Regions from separate parts of the Homo sapiens genome. Here region 2 is linked to region 1. Evidence: promoter capture Hi-C in human tissues and cell types (Jung and others, 2019). All regions are on one chromosome and are shown on one strand. Each heading gives the region's core, a stretch centred on a gene start or on the middle of the fragment in contact. The rest is flanking DNA. Distances are from core to core; before and after follow the strand shown.

The links. The method cuts DNA at HindIII sites, captures the fragments that hold promoters and counts their contacts. A contact is called where the count stands out against the background at its distance.
Region 2: a fragment that was not itself captured here is called in contact with the fragment with the promoter of PRRX1 in region 1 in 3 of the 25 tissues and cell types used here (adrenal gland, hippocampus and psoas muscle).

The regions. Positions count from the first base shown.
Region 1 is chr1:170,662,624-170,665,498 of GRCh38, reverse strand. It overlaps PRRX1 (paired related homeobox 1), which reads right to left and starts at 1,368. Exons shown (of 4, transcript NM_022716.4): 1 at 1,040-1,368. The coding sequence starts at 1,280. RefSeq lists enhancers at 1-735, 1,936-2,463. The HindIII fragment of the contact is 17,405 bases long and covers 1-2,875 here.
Region 2 is chr1:170,737,853-170,740,558 of GRCh38, reverse strand. PRRX1 (paired related homeobox 1) reads right to left here. Exons shown (of 4, transcript NM_022716.4): 4 at 1,138-2,706. Among named protein-coding and RNA genes, the nearest start is that of PRRX1, 75 kb to the right of the region's middle. The HindIII fragment of the contact is 4,339 bases long and covers 1-2,706 here.

The DNA of each region.
Region 1 (2,875 bases), core at 119-2,618:
TACAGCTAAGTTCAGACTCTTGCAACCTCGAGGAGAAGAGGGAGTATCTGTACATATCTGGCCACATGTCACCTGGGATGAACAGGGTGACCGGTCTGTTACAGACTTGGGGGCATGGGGATACAATTGCAGTCTCTTTTTAAGGCACTAGCGAAGCGAGATTTTCATGGGTCGCGAGGTTGGTCGGTGAGGATGGGGAAGGGAAACTGGACTTTTCTGGGCGTTTAAGAGCCAATAGGGAGAGCTCCTCTAAGGTGACACTGGCCTCCGCACTGAAGCTCGCGCCTCCCGGATGCAGCTCGCCTGTGCGGGATCATGCGGGGCTGGATTTCAGGTTTCACCCTTAAAGGACATTCCCTTTGCTTGGCCCGAGTTTTCCCAAGCCAGCCGGGCTTTTGACTCTGCCAGTCTCAAACCCATTTGCGGTAGAGGCAACAGCAGGGGGCAGAGAGCAGCTCCAGCGTCTGGGGCCGGGCGTTCTCTCGGGGCCTCCCGGTCGCGCCCGGCCTTACGGTGCCCGCGTGGAGAGTGCAGCCTGAGCAGCGCCAAGTCCTGCTCCCTGTGCCTGGTGCCCTCCCTCAAGCCGTCATACGCTGCCCGAGAGAAGCCCTTCCAACCCGACTCAGCATCTTTAACCTGCTGCTTTCCCAAACAGCGCTGGCTCTCTGAGTTTGCACCCCGCTAAGACCTTTTCCCAGCCCAGCCCCGCCGCCCCGCGTGCGGGATGAACCGAGCCGGTGCCTAGCCGAAGTAAAGAGAGTCCGCCGCGGACAGAGTCCCTGCCTGAGACCGCAGGGCCTCGGAGTGTCCCCGGACCTTGGAGCCTCTCTCCAGCGTCCTCCTTGGCTATGCCCTCGGCCGAGACCCGCTTTTCTCATCTGGTTTCCCCTGTGACTGGCCCTTCCTTTGAAGTCTGCCATCACCTCTCCTGGTCCCAGGACCTTGTCTTTCTGGCCGCGGACGGGCTCTAGCTGCCCTACACGGGTCCCCGCCCTCTGTCCCGGGCACACACCCCCGTGGGCATGCGCCCCTCACTCACTGTCCTGCTGCGGGGTGTCGCTGCCGCTGGTGAGTCCCGGCGACTCCAGCAGGCTCCGGCCAGCCTCGCCCACGTTCTCATCCGCCTGTGCCGCCACCATGTCCCCGGCTTCCTCCAGGTCTAGCAGGTGACTGACGGAGAAGTTCTTTTTCGCCTGCAGGGTGTCGAGGTTGCCCGGGCTGTCCAAGCGGCCGCCCAGCGCCGGTTGCCGCTCCAGAACGTGCCCGTAGCTGGAGGTCATGGTCTCCCCCACCGATCCCACCCACCCCCCTCTTCCCGCTCGAATCAACACCAAACGCTGTGGGCGCGAGGGGGGAGAGGAGCCGAGTGGGGAAGAAAGAGGGGGGTAGTGGAGAGAGAGAGAGAGAGAGGGAGGAAGAGGGAGGGAAGGAGAGGAAGGCCAAAAAAAAAAAATTGGAAAAGAGGGTGGGGGACCCCCTTCTGTAGAGCAGAGCGTTGTGCACCAGCCGCCTTCCGCAGCATTGGTTGATTTCCTGAGGCCAAGTCCGGCGCGGTCCAAAGAGATAATCCACAGTAAAATACAATATTAAAAAGTCACCCTATGTTCAAGTCAGGAGAAAAAAATCCCTTCCAACTCTCCAAAAGTGTCCACACGCACAGACTAAAAATAATAACAAGGGGGAGAGAGGAAAGCGGAGGCCAGCAGGGCGGGGGAGTTAGGCAAACAGAAGAAGAGAGAAGAAGGGGTGGGAGAGAAGAATCAAAGTGAATGGTTTTTTTAAAGGTTAAAAAAGTTATTCCCAGGCAAGAGTTCAAGCACCAACAGAAGAAGGCTTGTTCCAGCTTTAAAACATCTTCAAGAAAACGTGTTCCCCCCTCTCTGCACTCCTGTGGATTCTCAGGAGTGACTAAAGTTTCAGGAGGAGAGGGTGATGTCTTGCAGATGTATTAGAGAGCAGGATTCTCACTTTACTTTTTGTAAAGAGTAAAAAAAAAAATTAAGAATTAAAAAAAAAAGGCTTCAAGAGTCCGACGGAGGGTGCTGGTGGGTTCCCCCCTTTCCCCTTCTCTCTCTCCCCCTCTTCTTGCTGGGCTCCTTTTTCCTTCTCAGTTGGATCAAGAAGCTCTCTGGCACTTCAAAAGGCACAAACTGGCATGCAGAGGAGGCTTTGTAGGGAATACAAGAAAATTGGAGACCCCTGGGAGGGCAGATCTCGACTTAATAGGAGCCTGTAATTACGTGGCAAAGCCTTTGTGCTGTGCCTGACGTTTCACAGACCCCCTTTCTCCATCACAATCTCCTTCTTCCTCCTTTCCCTGGGACCAAAAAACAGTCTGATTAAGAAAACCCCCTTTGCCAACATCAGAGTTAGAGAGAAAGGGAGAGGGAGGGAACAAGAGAGAGGGAGGGAGAGAGGGAGGGAGGGAGGGAGGAAGGGAGAGAGAGAGAGAGAGAAAGAGAGAAGAGAAATGAGAGAGGGAAGAGAGCAAGAGAGCCCCTTTGGATTTCTAAAGGTCTAATTATCATTCCCCTGCAATAATATCACGGGGAGAAAAGACAAACTGAAACTCACAGTCACTTCAAACGTGCTGATTATTTTGCTTCGGCATTAACTCCTCCAGATTTGTTTAAGATCCTGTTGGAAAATCTCATTTGCATGTTTTGATAACAGCTGTGGGGAAATTTGGAAAAAATCCACCACCATCACAATCAAATTTTCTTCTCCTTCTGCCTTCCCCCAAACCGCCCCCCCCCAAAAAAAAATTTTCTGCTGTTCTAACAGTTTGGGGCGGAGTACAGGGAGAAAGTAAGCATATTAAGGCTATTTTTGGTTCCGTAGAGGGAGCCTATTAAATAATGTAATAAAAATAACA
Region 2 (2,706 bases), core at 101-2,600, 75 kb before region 1:
CGGGTTCACGCCATTCTTCTGCCTCAGCCTCCCAAGTAGCTGGGACTACAGGCACCCGCCACCACGCCCGGCTAATTTTTTGTATTTTTAGTAGAGATGGGGTTTCACTGTGTTAGTCAGGATGGTCTTGATCTCCTGACGTTGTGATTCGCCCGCCTCGGCCTCCCAAAGTGCTGGGATTACAGGCGTGAGCCACCGCGCCTGGCCTAAAGTAGCATTTTTTCACATGGCTTTTTTTTCTGCTCAAAAGCCTTCAATAGATCTCTGTGGCCTGAGGAAAAGTCCAAACATCTTTGACATGTGGTACCCTGCAAGATTAAGCCTCAACTTGCATCTCTAGTATCTTCCATTCAACTTTAAAATTAACTCTCCATCTCATCCAGGCCCATTTTGCCATACATCTTTGAATACAAATTCCTCATTCCTATATCCCTGCCTTCACCCCTTCTTCTCCATGCCCTCACTTGAAAAGCCATCACCTGTTCTTCACCTGTCCGGATCCTTGCTGATAAAATTCAAGTCCCAGTTCCTCTGTAAAACTGGTCTCCCACTTCAACTAACAGCATGTTCTCTCTCTTCCTCTTCTGAACTCCTTTTATCTGTTCTGTTTGATACTTATTAATATATTATCTTGAACTGTTGCTTATTTTTGCATGCTAGGGTTGCTTTTTAAACCAGATTTTAATTGATATGAAAACAGCATCTGTGTCTCACAATTTAGTTTTTCTGTCCTCCCCATGACCACACACCCATGCTATGCACAATGGATGCTTAAGAAATTTTATTTTTCTATTTCTTTACTCCAGAAGAAACAGCCATGCTTATATGAAGTCTTTTCCATATGGTGTCCAGTATTGTGAATGTTAAAGATATTGATTTTGAAAATGCTAAACTCTCATAAAAGTTCCACTCTATTCTCATCTATTATAATAGTAAGTGTCCCCTCTTCTTCCTACCATTGTCTTTGTTTCTGAGGAAAAATAGATTATTTTCCTGTTTTATGGAAAATAATATCACACTCAGATAAAGTTATCTTGTCTATAAGCCCTTCTTACCTTCACTGTTCTGCATGTAATCTCAGATTCTAGCAGATCTGTGTTTTTGAAGTTCAAAGAGAAAAGAATCAGCAGGCTTAAATGTATATAACAAAAGACATGGTAGAGTCCTTCTTTCTTTTTATTGAAAAGAAATCATTTCTATTCTAGCGCAAACAATGTATATTTTACAACATAAAGCAAGATATAATTTACATATTACATTTCTTATGAGATCTTTATACCCTAAATGTCATTCCCTTTTTTATTAAGTCACCTCTTCTGGTTTAATTTAACCTGCCAAGTACCCTACAAATCAGCATCTTGTTTGAAGGGAGATTGAGGACACAGGCAGATAGTTCCTATGTATTCACCTGTATCTGGTATCATGATGGTGAGGAACAGGGTTATGTCTTGACATTTGCAGCCCTGAGGACCTCCACTGACAACTGGCTTAAGATCCAGAAGGCATCTTTTCCAAATCACATACCAAACTTGTATTTTAAAAATTTGATAATAAATGAACAAAATTGAGAGCTTGTACAACATGTATATTTCTTGATCAAGTGCTTAGATAATACATGCTTATGGTATTGGTTCACCAGCAGTGAATGTTTCTTTGGCTGACCAGCACTTGTTACTCTATGATATTCCCAGACATTGCTTGCTTGAGACATTGGATAAAACCACCCAACTTCACCTATCATTTGGGTTTATGGGTTCAGGCTTTGCTGTTTGCCACTGGAAATGGATGTCTGAATCAAAATTTCAAATGATTTTGTTTCACATGTCCCTCTATCTAAGGTTTTCCCCTTCTCAGTAAAACCTTTTCATGTATGATTTCTGTTCCCTCCCTATAATTCAAATCTTCTTAGCCATTCTCTTCAAGCTCCAAACCTCCAAAGTTCACCAGTTACTTGGATTATACTCATTTCACTTAGAATGTTTCAGTCTGTTGGGATGTACAGTTCCTTCAAAACTTGATAATCCACAGCAACTAATGGGACAAATGGATGAATGGGGGAACTCTTCAGGAAGCAAGTAATGCGTGCTGTTCAGCAAGCCTACATGAACCATTCAGTAAGAAATGTTTTAATAGTGGGCTAAAAGAAGAAGGAATCAATTGGTGAAAGCAAAATGTATAAGATGAGCTTCATTATTATTTAAAGAACTACAGAATCAACATTTGAAATACAATTTCAGATTGGTGGCTGTTAGATTGAAATAACATCACCATTAGCTCAATCTGATATGCCAAGGGAAATACAAATGTGTGCTAAAAGTGCATCTTAAACCCAAAAATCCTTGCCTGTCACTCAGACTACAAAGTTGGCATGTTTGACCAAAATTGATCCAAAGTTTTTTAATCACTCACAACTAAAAATTATTAGAACTAAGCTGGTCAGGATGAAAATATAAATTAAAAAAATCTGTTCTATGTGTCTTAAATTATTCTTTGGTCAAATGATGTGATTTTTGAGAGATCTGAAAATATAAACCTATTTCTCATTTCCAAATACAAGGTTATAAGTATGTACAGCAAGGTAGCATTTTCTTACTAGAAAACAAGGCTTTCAGGTACCGTATCATTCCATTAACATTGTACACTTTTATAGTCCCTTTCCTCCCATGGCTACAAAGTGCTGGACATACAGAGAATACAGGAAAGAAT